Linked DNA regions of Homo sapiens: all the other regions are linked to region 1. Evidence: promoter capture Hi-C in 16 types of primary human blood cells and fetal thymus (Javierre and others, 2016). All regions are on one chromosome and are shown on one strand. Each heading gives the region's core, a stretch centred on a gene start or on the middle of the fragment in contact. The rest is flanking DNA. Distances are from core to core; before and after follow the strand shown. Region 1 holds the start of MED17 (mediator complex subunit 17). Region 2 has its middle 8.0 kb from the start of JRKL. Region 3 holds the start of MTMR2 (myotubularin related protein 2). Region 4 overlaps CEP57 (centrosomal protein 57).

What was found. The method cuts DNA at HindIII sites, captures the fragments that hold promoters and counts their contacts. A CHiCAGO score of 5 or more calls a contact.
Region 2: a contact is called between a fragment that was not itself captured here and the fragment with the promoter of MED17 in region 1, in 1 of 17 cell types (total CD8 T cells). The highest score is 5.1, in total CD8 T cells.
Region 3: a fragment that was not itself captured here is called in contact with the fragment with the promoter of MED17 in region 1 in 2 of 17 cell types (non-activated CD4 T cells and total CD4 T cells); the score reaches 5.7 in non-activated CD4 T cells.
Region 4: a fragment that was not itself captured here is called in contact with the fragment with the promoter of MED17 in region 1 in 1 of 17 cell types (total CD4 T cells); the score reaches 6.1 in total CD4 T cells.

What each region holds. Positions count from the first base shown.
Region 1 is chr11:93,782,553-93,785,745 of GRCh38, reverse strand. MED17 (mediator complex subunit 17) reads right to left here and starts at 1,464. Exons shown (of 12, transcript NM_004268.5): 1 at 983-1,464. The coding sequence starts at 1,232. RefSeq lists silencers at 732-926, 928-1,057 and enhancers at 1,188-1,407, 1,349-1,643. The HindIII fragment of the contact is 2,360 bases long and covers 463-2,822 here.
Region 2 is chr11:96,396,434-96,399,626 of GRCh38, reverse strand. No RefSeq gene overlaps it. Among named protein-coding and RNA genes, the nearest start is that of JRKL, 8.0 kb to the right of the region's middle. The HindIII fragment of the contact is 1,316 bases long and covers 1,102-2,417 here.
Region 3 is chr11:95,922,060-95,925,252 of GRCh38, reverse strand. MTMR2 (myotubularin related protein 2) reads left to right here and starts at 1,146. Exons shown (of 15, transcript NM_016156.6): 1 at 1,146-1,378. The coding sequence starts at 1,299. RefSeq lists enhancers at 929-1,058, 1,119-1,168. The HindIII fragment of the contact is 2,990 bases long and covers 119-3,108 here.
Region 4 is chr11:95,799,351-95,802,543 of GRCh38, reverse strand. CEP57 (centrosomal protein 57) reads right to left here. Exons shown (of 11, transcript NM_014679.5): 2 at 3,156-3,193. Among named protein-coding and RNA genes, the nearest start is that of CEP57, 10 kb to the right of the region's middle. The HindIII fragment of the contact is 2,015 bases long and covers 672-2,686 here.

The sequences.
Region 1 (3,193 bases), core at 215-2,714:
TGTGAGCCACCATGCCTGTCCTGTTATTTCCGAAATTAAGAAGATCTATCCGACTCCCAGAATAATACAACTATTCTTTCATTATTTCTTCTAACACTTTGTTTTACTTTCTTCATTTGGCACTTCAATCCTCAAAAATTACTGTGGAAATAATTTTTGTGTGAGGTATAAAGTAGTATTTACCTTTTTTTGCAAATAGACCCCTAATAATCCTAACAGCACTGCCCTGAAATGACATCTTTAAATTCCCATTTACACTGGGTGTGCTGCATAACTAAATTAAGAATTTTGATTTTTTTTTCAAAAATCCTTGACAATAATGAGAATCTGAAACCCACTCATTATTTCTTCACTTCCCTCCTAGTCTCCTCCCTTCCAGTTTTGCTTTCCCTATAATTCATTTATTAGAAAGCATCTAGAGTAAACTTTAACAAAACCATCTCTACTTATCCTGCAAAAGCTTTCAGTGGTCTTAACACTAGTCAAACGCTTATCCCGGCCTACTGGGTTCTACATGATCTGGACCCGCCTACCTCTTGGACCTCGTCACACATTTCAGTCAAAACAGACCTCTTTTCTGCAGGTGCTACTATCATCATTCACACCGCACAAGGATGCAAAGTAACTCGCCCAAGGTCACACAGCCGGCAAGGGGCAGAGCCCCGATCTAGGGCTCTTTTAGCCACTAAGTGTGCTACATTAAAGGCCCTCTACAGAGAAGCATTCATTTAAACATTTCACGGTTTGACAGTGTCTCTAAACGCTGCCATTCAAGGAGACCCGCAGGAGTATTACGTAAAGTCGTGTCCTACCTTGTCCGGCAGCAACAAAAAGATGACGACCAAGTATCCTTACGCTTCCGCTAGAGGGACACTCAAAAGTTCTCGCACGCACAAGATCACCCCCATCGCGGGAGAGGCGGAGGCCCGCGCGGGTGCTGGGACCCAGACCGGGGGACTCGGGCAGCGGATGCAGGCCTTACCTTCCTCGTCGTCCTGGTCTGCGCTGGACCCGGCGCCCGGCCACTCCTGCGCGTCGCCCTCGGTCCCCGCCGCCTCCTCCTCCTCGGAGCCCGAACCCTGGCTGAAGTCTATCCGCTGGGCCAGACGCGCCAGATTCTGCGACATGGACAGCGGGGGCAGGTACGTCTCGGTGCCATCCAGGCCCACCTCATGGACCTGCTTCTCGCAGGCCGATTCGATGCTGATCCGCACTGCGCGCACCCCGGACATGCTGGCTGCGTCGGCCAGCGGTGGGAGGACCCCCCACGAGCCAAAAAACGAGGTACGAAGAGGAGGCTTCCCTGCGGAGAGCCGGGAACTCAGAAGCCCGCAGCCGCGGTGCCTCAGAAGACCCTCGGGAAACCGAACGCAACGCTCAGACTGGAAACAAAGGAGCTGGCCCAGCAACTTTCCCAGAACGCACCGCAAGCTCCCTCCTCGGTAAGTCTTTCGGAGCAAAACTGGGCAGGCGCGGAAGCTCCAGGGTTCCCTAGAGCGCTTCCGGTGAATCACGGTGCAGGGTGGGGTAAACTTCCGGGCCTATAAGAGGCGTGGCCGGCAGAGGGAGGGAAAGAGCGGTTTGGGAGCCGAGAGTGTGGCGGGTATATTCCTTGCTTTTTAAGCCTGCGTTTGTTTAAAAAGTGGATGAGGAAAGAAAGCTGCAGAGGCTAGAAGAGTTAAGGAAAAGGAAATTAATGGATCCTTGGATCTTAGCAATGAGAGTCCTGTTGAGAGAACTGAGATCTGGTGGCGCGCGCCTGTGGTCCAGCTACGCGGGTGGCTGAGGCGGGAGAATGGCTTGAGCCCTGGAGATGGAGGCTGCAGTGAGCCGAGATCTCACCGCTGCATTCCAGCCTAAGCAACAGAGTGGGATCCTGCCTCAAAACAAAAGTTATTTTAAATTAGCAAGAAATTTTTTAAAGAAACACTATCTGAAGAGTTAGAAATTAAGGGCATGGCTTGGGGGAAACAATCGTGCTTATCACCACTTAAAATTATACTACGTAATTATTTGGTTTCCTGTTAGTTATAACTCTATGACAGCCAATATCTGCAGCAGACATAATAGACTCTGGCATGTAGTAAGTGCTTAATATTTATTTTATGCCCGAGTAACAGAATAAATAATGTTGATCTCGCTTTTTTATTAGTGATGGGGTCCCACTATGTTGCCCAGGCTGAGTGCAGAGGTTATTCACAAGTGCTGTCAGCACGCTACAGCCTGGAGCTCCTGGGCTCCAACGATGCTCCTGCCTTAGCCTCCTGAGGAGCTGGGACTATAGGAGCGTGTCACCATGCCTGGCCTGCAAATAATATTTAAAAGATTAAGAAGAAGTGGTATAACTTCAGTCTTTGGGTCTCCAAGAACGTATTTCATTAGTAGGAATTCCACAGACAAAGATGGATTATTTTATATTACAAACCTCTATATTTCGTTTAAGGAATTATATATACCGTTTATCATGAGTGTTTGCCAGGTTTTGTTCTGACCAAGATATATCTAGGTTTTGAACTACTTTCCTAAGGTATTTAGGAAAATACGGTTGCCCTGGTGTCAGTCCCTGCTGAAGAAGAAAGTAGATGGCCGTGTGTGGAGGGGGTTGAATTTTCATGAGAGAAACCTATTTCTGGCAAGCTGTACAGTCTGTCGCCCAATCATGTTCGAGAACCACTGTACTTGCTTTTCGTGTAAATTTGTTTAAAAATTTTTTTTAACTTTATTTTAAAATCTGATTAATAGCCAGGCGCAGTGGCAGTCTAATAGTGCAGACAAAAACAAGACAACAACAAATGATTATGATTCCTAGAATAAGCAAAGCTTTTGCCACCAAGTCTTCAAGATCAAAACTAGCTGCTTAGCCAGTTGTTTAAAGATGTGTTGGATCTGAAAGGTTAGTTGTTAAGGTTTTCATATTATCCATTAACGTAGTGATATTATCTGATTCATCTGGGATACAGACATAACACACAGTTTTTATGATAATGCAAGTTCCTCCCTGGGCTTCGGTGAGTATGTCAAAAGCCATACGGTTTTGTAATAATGGCCTTTTCCATAAGAATAACTATTGTTTAATAATGGAATACTTATGTAGCTATCTTTTGGGTATAATTGGTTAGGACCTCTATATGCCAAATAACATCTTCAACACTCAGTTGTGGTATGAAGATGGAAGCTAAGTGATCATACCAAT
Region 2 (3,193 bases), core at 510-3,009, 2.6 Mb before region 1:
AGGTCCTAGAGCTCAGGGCCTGCGATGTGAGGGGCAGCCTTGAAGATCTTTGAAATGCCACTGGGGTGATTATCGCATTGTCTTGATTAATAGTGCCTGGCTTCCTCCTATCCGTACTAATCTCTTTAGCAACAGTTCTTTGACCACAGCCTTGGTTTTTTTCTCCTAAATGTGCTTTTTCATTCTTTACATTGCCAGGCTAGGGATTTTCCAGTTCTCTACATTCTGCTTCCCTTTTGATTATAAATTCCATTATTAAATAATTTCTCTTCTTGCATTTTACTATGTGTGCTTAAGAGAAGCTTCACAATCCTCCATTTACGCAGCCAACAGACACATGAAAAAATGCTCGTCATCACTGGCCATCAGAGAAATGCAAATCAAAACCACAGTGACATACCATCTCACACCAGTTCGAATGGCGATCATTAAAAAGTCAGGAAACAACAGGTGCTGGAGAGGATGTGGAGAAATAGGAACACTTTTACACTGCTGGTGGGACTGTAAACTAGTTCAACCATTGTGGAAGTCAGTGTGGCGATTCCTCAAGGATCTAGAACTAGAAATACCATTTGACCCAGCCATCCCACTACTGGGTATATACCTAAAGGATTATAAATCATGCTGCTATAAAGACACATGCACACGCATGTTTACTGTAGCACTGTTCACAATAGCAAAGACTTGGAACCAACCCAAATGTCCATCAATGATAGACTGGATTAAGAAATTGTGGCACATATACACCATGGAATACTATGCAGCCATAAAAAGGATGAGTTCATGTCCTTTGTAGGGACATGGATGAAGCTGGAAACCATCATTCTCAGTAAACTATCACAAGGACAAAAAACCAAACACTGCATGTTCTCACTCATAGGTGGGAATTGAACAATGAGAACACTTGGACACAAGAAGGGGAACATCACACACTGGGGCCTGTCATGGGGAGGGATAGCAGTAGGAGATATACCTGATGTAAATGATGAGTTAATGGGTGCAGCACACCAGCATGGCACAAGTATACATATGTAACAAACCTGCACGTTGTGCACATGTACCCTAGAACTTAAAGTATAAAAAAAAAGAGAGAGAGAAGCTTCACAGTCCTCTCAATATTTTGCTGCTTAGAAATCTTTTGCCAGATATCCTAGTTCATTCCTCTTAAATGCTACCTTCTATAAAGCCCTGGGGCATAGACACAATTCAGGCAAGTTTTTTGCTACTTCATAAAAAGATGGCTCTTCCTCTAGTTTCCAATAAGATATTCCTTATTTCCATCTGAGCTGTTACCCATATTGCCCTTAATGCTCCATTTTTGGCAACACAGCGTTTTTCCAGCAGTCACGTCAAAACTATTCAAAAGCTGCTTCCACATTTTCAGATATTTGTTATAGCAACACCCCACTCCTTTGGTACCAATTTCTGTCTTAGTCCATTGTGCTACTATAACAGAATACCTGAGACTGGGGAATTCATAAAGGACAGAAATTTATTTCATCACAGTTCTGGAGGCTGGGATGTTCAAAACCAAGGCCCTGGCATCTGGTGAGGGCCCTCTTGCTGAGTCATCACATGGTGGAAGACAGAAGAGTGAGAGAGTGCTCACTCCCAAAAGTCCTTTTCATAATAGTGTTCATTCATTGACGAGAGTGGAGCACTCATGGCCTAATCACCTAGAAATTACACTACCATCAGATTCGCAATTAAATTTTAACATGAGTTTTGGAGTGGAAAAACATTAGTAATACGGCACTTATTTAGTTTCCCCATTATTATTTTATGCCTAGTCTTGATTTCATGGTTCATCAAAGAAACCCATTATTCTCTTGTTCCTACGTCTACTTTGTTTGCCCTGAAAATGGGCAATCTTGTGGTTCTCAACTCTGGCTGCATTATTTGAGATATCTGGGAACTTAAAAAAAATAAATAAAAGATACACCATAGTCACTTTAGACCAAGTAAATCAGATCCTCTGCGAGTAAGACTCATGTACTGATATTTTTTATAAAAGCTCCCTGAATGGGTTCTATGAGAATAACTGCCCTAATGTACCTATTTTTGTTTCACAAAGGGCTAATTATTCAACAACATTTGTGCCTCCCTTTTGATTATATAAAGTTGTCATTGTGAAACAGCTGCCTAGTTAGGGAGTCATTCCCATCACCCATCCCACCCCCACCCCACATCAAGGTAGGGCCAGGTGACTAGTTTTCACCAATAGAAAGTGAACTGAAAGAATGTATATGGCTTCTGAAAGAAGGGCATTAAGGAACAAGTGTGCACTGTGTATTCTCTCTTTTCCCAACTGCCAACTGGATGCAAAGGATTCTAAGTGTTTAGCAGATGCAAAATCACAAGATGGAAAGCACTTGGGTCCAAGAATCACTTGAAAAAAGTCATGCTTTGACAAAGCTTTATATCATAAGACCACTAAGAGAAAAAGACAAACAACACTTACTGTGTTAAGCCTCTAAAATGTGGGGGTTTCATCAGCTACAGTTACCCAAATCAACAGAGAAATAGGTATCTTGAAGTGGGCTGCTGTTGTGATAATCAAATATGTGGCATTATATTAGTGAGTAGGAAATATGCGTCAAGGAAATAACTAGCAGGCACTGGAAAGATGGAATAGTGGTAAGAAACATGTTGTAAATATTACTTTCAATAACTCGGAAAGCAGACTGACTCTAAGCTTGTGATTCTAGAGCGGTGATTCTCATACAGGCACAATTTTGCCCCCAGGGGACATCTGGCAATGTGTGGAGACATTTCTGGTTGTCATACTGGAGCAGGGAGGAAGTGGCAGGTAGAGACAAGAGATGTTGCTAAGACTCCTTTAATATCCAGTACAGCCCCCCACAACAGAGAGTTATCTGCATCATGATAACCCTGAAGTTAAGAAGCCCTTCTCTAGAGGAAGTGGCTGGAAAGAGCCAGAAAATTAACGTTATTTGCTCCTTGCTGTGTTCAGCAAATAATACAAGAAAGAAGTGAGCTCAGAAAATTAGTCAGTTATAAGCAAAATAAAGCATACCTTTATTCTGACATTCAGTTAAATACCTTGGCTTAGAGAAAGTCCAGAAATCTGGGGGCTTTTGTAGGTTTCAAAAACTATTTCTCCAGACTACAAACAGTAGGAAGGAAATAAGACTGAAAAAGCAAAGCCTCAGTAAGACTTCTCAGTTAAACA
Region 3 (3,193 bases), core at 364-2,863, 2.1 Mb before region 1:
CCTTCACTAAGGAAATTTAAGTCAAAGTAGCTGACAGTGAGTCAGCATTTTGGAAGGCAGGTAGAGATGGTGAAGAAATAAGGAAATTCTTCTATGAGTCATGATAGATATTTAAGCTTGTTAAAAAATGTTTTTGACTACCTACTCCCTTTGCCTACAGAGTCCAGTTAAGGTATCTTAAAAATTATGGAAATAAAAACAATCGGTCGCTGTCTGTCCTCGCCAAACTCAAAAAAGGCTAAGCCTTTTGTGCTTAAACACATACTCATCAGTAACTATTCTACCTTACACTGAACATAACTAAGCTAGGTTGTTCTTCTTGGGAATGTACTTGCAAGTTAATACTGCACTGCAACTATAAGGTTTTTTAAAAGACATCAGTTGTACATTATAAATTAAATCTAGTTTAAATCAATATAATTCAATTTATCCTAGCAAGGAAGTTTTTTAAGGATGGTCTGATTTTTTTTTTACAGGAATAATCTTTGCATAATTTTACACCCCATACATGAGATGATTAGGATTCAATCTCAATCAGAAAAATCCCTTTATGGTGTCCTTATGGCTTTCCTGTATCCTAACAGAAAAATCCTAGCAGAAGCATTTCCCCTTTACCCAGTTCCTGTTCTCTTATCACAGTTCTATTCCTCCACACTCCCTTCCTGCTAGGCACGGGAATTTGAAAGGGCAGGGAAAAATCGGTGAAAGTTTGTCTTCTACTTGGGTAATCCAACACCACCGCATCCAGTAGTATATAATTCTTTTTGCATGTATATCAGATCCTCCCCAATCCCTCTCCCATACCTCTTTCTCACTTTTCTCTCATTATCCGGTCCTCTTGTTTTCCTTGACCCCCACATTCCTGTCTAAATCATCCTCCTGGCCTCAGGTCCTTATCGCCTTCCTGAGACCCTCATGTTTAGTGTTCCCTCATTCCTCTTACACCTAGGATTTCTCCTCCTTCCATAAGGGTCTGGTCCTTCATCCCTCCCGCTTCACCAGACCCCCTCACCCTGGGAGCCGCCACCTCCCTTTCCCCAAGACCAGATGTCGCGCGGCCGGACACAGCCAGCACGGAGAGTCGATGCCGGCGTCTGAGCTGCGCAGTGGGGTCTTCCCGCTGCCCAGCAGCCTACAGGCGCGGTGCACTCTGGGGGAACATGGCCGCTTCCGGTCTCCCTCCCGGGCCGGCGCTGGCCTGACTGCGGCCCCGGTCCGTAGCACTCCGCCCTCCGCTTCTCCCGCCCTGTAGCCGCGAAGACTGCTTCAGCCTTTCCCTGTGCTGCCCCTGCCGCGCGATGGAGAAGAGCTCGAGCTGCGAGAGTCTTGGCTCCCAGCCGGCGGCGGCTCGGCCGCCCAGCGTGGACTCCTTGTCCAGGTAACCAGGACGCCCAGGGCCCCGCCCAGCGTCCGAAGGGGATGGAGAGGGGCCGGGGACCTGCTGGATTGTTGCCCCAATTCGCGGATTCTGGTTTCTGAAGGCTACGCCGGAATTCCTTCCCCGGGACTTGGGAACCACTTCTGCCTCCCTCCCTGGGGCGTGGAGGCTGAGGAAAAGGAGGTTAAAACTCGCTGCTTCTTTATCGATTCCTCTACCTTTCATATTCCGATCTCGTTTTCTCCCCGATGGAGGTGGTCCCAGTTAATTACTTTCTCCTGTCTTTCATTCCCTCTCAAACCTTTTTTAAGACAGTTCCCCCCGCCCCCATTCTTTTCCCCACATTTCCTGTCTTTCTCTGTCACTTTTTCCAAAACCATCCTAAAGTCAGTCTTTCCTCCTCCACCCCTTCTTATGTCTTTGGTTTTTGGGTTCTTGCCCAGCCCTTTTCTCTCTTTTCATGGCTTCACCTTCTTAATTTCTTTCATGCTTTTCTCTACACTCTGATTTTCTTCTCGCCTCCCTTTTTGCTTAAATATGTAAATAAAAATGTCTCCTGTGCTTCTCTTTTCTAAATCTTCCAGCTGAAAGTCAGTATCAAGGAATCTGAGTGGTTTTTATCCCCAGTGATAGGTTTAAGAAAACAAAATGAGTGGTAGTTTTCTTCCTTCTTGGGCTACTGGTTCTCCACGTTGTCATTTCTCTTGTAACAGATGGGAATTTTATCCTGGAATTTTGAGGAGGACTTTATGCAGCTTTGCAGAGAGCTTTTATGAATATTAACTAGACGCGTTTTGGATGCAGTCTTTTTCTTTGATTTTAAAATAATGATTTAAAAATTTTTTAAAAAATAATATAAGACCTGTATTTGCTTTTTATGCAGCCACGATGAAATCTGGTTCTTTTCCACTGAATAATAGTCTAATTGTTATTAGAGAGTGATTCGATAACTGCTGTGTGAAAACACACAATTTTCATTTTCTCCTTCAATCAGTTGAAGTGGCTCTATTATAATTCATTTTGGATTCTGCTAAATATGGGTAGTTATTGCCTTTTTTCCTGTTGATGTTCAGCACCTCACTGGGGAACCACTGTCTGATCCCGTCATTCTACATTGCCATATGCACTCATAGCTCCCTGCACAGTCGTTTTTCAGAGTCTTTAATAAGCACACTATAATTGTTGGCTTAAAGTGCCTTTTCTACCAGGTTATAAGCTATTATACTTGAGGGCAATCTTAATCATCTTCATATCTCCAGCACTTAACATAGTCTCAGCATGTGATAGGTGCTCACTAAATGGTTTTTTTTTTTTCGAATTTGTAGCCTGAATTATCCAGGAAAGGAGGATTTTTCTTTGCAGTTTGATTATATATATTGCACGTTTGAATCAAGTATTTTTTGAATTCTGTATTTATTGCTTTGAAATTTGGAAAGCTGAGGATTAACATGTTCAGTTGTGTAATTCATTCAGAAAACAGGTTGGAAAATTCGAATTTTATGGGAAAGTTACAAATGACAACTATGCCTCAGAATAGCATAAGAGGCAACCAGTACTCTCATCCAAGGCAGAGAAGTTAGAACCACATGAAGCAGCACAGTATGTTAGAAAGAAGGAAGTACTGGAAGTTAGGAAGCTCCCATGCTGAAGTCTCTGGCTGAGCTAGCTCTTTGGTCTTTTCATTTAGACTTTCTAGTCTACAGTTTTCTCATCTTTTAAAATAAGAAGCTTGATCTAGAAAATCTGTAAGGTCCCTTGGAACTCTAACATTGTCATTTTTAAAATTTTAATGACAATACTAAGATGAATGCATTG
Region 4 (3,193 bases), core at 430-2,929, 2.0 Mb before region 1:
CGGTGGCTCACACCTGTAATCCCAGCACTTTGGGAGGCTGAGGTGGGCGGATCACGAGGTCAAGAGATCGAGACCATCCTGGCCAACATGGTTAAACCCTGTCTCTACTAAAAATACAAAAATTAGCCAGGTGTGGTGGCATGTGTCTGTAATCCCAGCTACTCAGGAGGCTGAGGCAGGAGAATTGCTTGAACCTGGGAGGCAGAGGTTGTAGTGAGCCAAGATCATGCCACCGCACTCCAGCCTGGGTGACAGAGTGAGACTGTCTCAAAAAAAAAAAAAAAAAAATCATGTCACGTTTATAAACCTTTCACATGCTGTACTCTTGTTGAACTTTTCTTCTTATAGAACTGTGCTCATTCTTTAAAACTCAGATTATCTATTATTTCGTTTTTCCTCTGAGAGGTTTTCCTCTCCTTTAACCTCCCCAACACACTTATCCCTATCCCCAACAAATGTCTTTTCTGAACTCTCTTGGTCTTTGTTCATATCTCACAGCCTTTATTTTTTTTCTGGGTGAGAAGGGGATAGTGATTTCTGTGTCTTTCCTTCCCATTTGGAAAGTAAGTATCGTTGGATTAAAACACTATAAAAGGATAATGGATTATAATAATTATCCTGGGACATTGCTTAAATAGTTCACCGCATCATGCTCTAAAGGCATAAAAGCTTAAAGGTTACTTTTTATCTTGTTTATTTCTCCTCTCCGTCTCCTCCCTGCTTGTCTCACTTCTCTTTTATTCCTTAAAACCACTGATGTTGCACTCAAGCAGAATTTAGCTCTATTAGTAACATGCTGTGCTAAAATTTTTCTGATTCTCGGTGAATAAATCTGCCTTCTTAATATTTCTTATTCTTTGCTAGTAATTTGTCATTTTTTTGAACTTTTTAAAAGTTTCCTTTCATGGGTGTAAAGATCAGAACTAGATACAATATTATAGTTGAAGGATTAATATCTAATTCTTAGATTTTGTGTTCCTGTTAGAACTTTGTAAATGGATATTTTGTTTTGTGCTTATTTTTGAATAAGAAACTTACTGCAACTGATTTTTGCTCTACTGTGGGCTTCAGTCATTTTTTTTTTTTTTTTTTTGCTTTTTAAAATCTATGTTGTTTGAATGTCATGCAACTTAATTTTCTTAAATTGCCAACCTGCTATACTCTGATGTGTAGAACCTTATCAGTTGCTTTAACCATTAATTAAAAATTTTCGTTATCATCGAGACACAGTATCTTATAATAAAGAGGCTTCTAGGTTAGTGATTACAGAGTACTAAAATTCTTAAAAGACATCACACTATTTAGTTACTTTTATTTCAGTAAACACTTTTCAGCACCCATTATAGGTTAGGATTTAAGCTGGTATTTGGATATCATTACCTACTTGGTATTTTACTGTACAATCAGTCCAGTTTACAAAACAGGTTCATTCTGAGATTTTTAGGATACTTACAATATATATCCCAACTGAAACAAAAAATGTTCCTCAACTAATTTACAAATGCCTGTTTAGCCTACGATGTCAAAAATATTTCTTTTACCTAGAGAATCATTAACACATAGAATTGTTGCAATATTAGTGATTAAACACAACTTTCAAAAAAAGGAAATGCCACAGCATCCCAAATAAAGCAAAGATATTTCATTTAAACTTCACACAAAGTATGAGGTAGGTGTATTTTAAAAGATACAGATGAAGAAACATCTAAAAGACGATTAACAAATTCAATATCAAAACCATCTTTTCATTATCTGAGTGGGCCCAATCTGATAACATAACCAGAAAATTTTCTCCCGCTGTGGTTAGAGAAATGTAACAACAGAACTCAGAGAGATTTGAAACATAAGAGACTTGGCCAGGCGCGGTAGCTCATGCCTGTAATCCCAGCACTTTGGGAGGCCAAGGCGGGTGGATCACGAGGTCCAGAGATTGAGACCATCTGGGCCAACATGGTGAAACCTCGTCCCTACTAAAAATACAAAAACTAGCTGGGCGCGTCTGTAGTCCCAGCTACTCAGGAGGCTGAGGCAAGAGAATAGCAATAGCTTGAATCCAGGAGGCGGAGGTTGCAGTGAGCCGGGATCCCGCCACTGCACTCCAGCCTGGTGACAGAGTGAGACTCTGTCTCCAAAAAAACAATAAAAAATAAAAAAAAAAAAGAAACATGAGAGACTACCTACTGTTACCGTAGGAGACAATAAGGGAAACATGAAGGAAGGAGGACAGTTTCTAGGAGCAAAGACTGTCCTCAAGTAAAAGTCTGCAAAGCAACAGAATCTCAGTACTGCAATGACAAGGAACTGAATTTGGCTAAGAATCTTAATGAGCTTGGAAGCAGATCTTCCCCAGAGCCTCTAGTAAAGAACAGAGCCCCAAGCAAAGCCTTGATTTCAGCCTTGTAAGGCTCTAAACAGAGGACCCAGATAAGCCTACACAGATTTCCGACCTACAGAAAACTGAGATAACAAATATTTAAAGCTAAGTTCATGGCAATTTGTTAAGGCGACAAGAAAACTAATACAGATGGCAGGTTCCAGGAATAAATGTATTTCAAAGTAGCCAGAGCAAAGGATGGGAAAGGAAAAAACAGAAGACAAGTTAGGGATGAAGCTGGTGAGGCATATAGGGTCTAGGTTATGAAAAATTAAGAATTTATTATGTAAGCTATGAAGAGATGCTAAAGCTTTAATTTTGTGGGAGAGATGATGGATAATGACAAATGACAGAAATGTTGTTAACTGGGGATGAGGAGGAGAAAACAGGCAGGGAGATTAATGAGGAATGTACTATGAACATCTGGGCTACAGATGATGAAAGCCTGAACCAAAGCAATGAGAACACAAAAAGGCAGAAAAAACAGTATGCTTTTGGTATATTTCAGAAGCAAAAAAAGGTCTTCATTCCGGACTAATAGTGGGGATTACAGAGCAGTCACTGATGACTCAAAGTGTTTTAGCATCAGTAATTTGGTGGATGATGATGTTCAACAATCAATATAAGGAATACAAGAAAAGCATAATATTTTCTGGGGGCTGAAACTGGAAGCAAAGGGGAAATATATTTTCCTCTAATGGCAAAATAATGGAGGACAAAGTTAAGAATTTTAAAGCAGCAAGAAAACACAAATAACATTTATTTCGTTAGGCTCGATTACCTCTGCTGTTGCTTTCTGGATAGGCAAGTGTAGGCTTA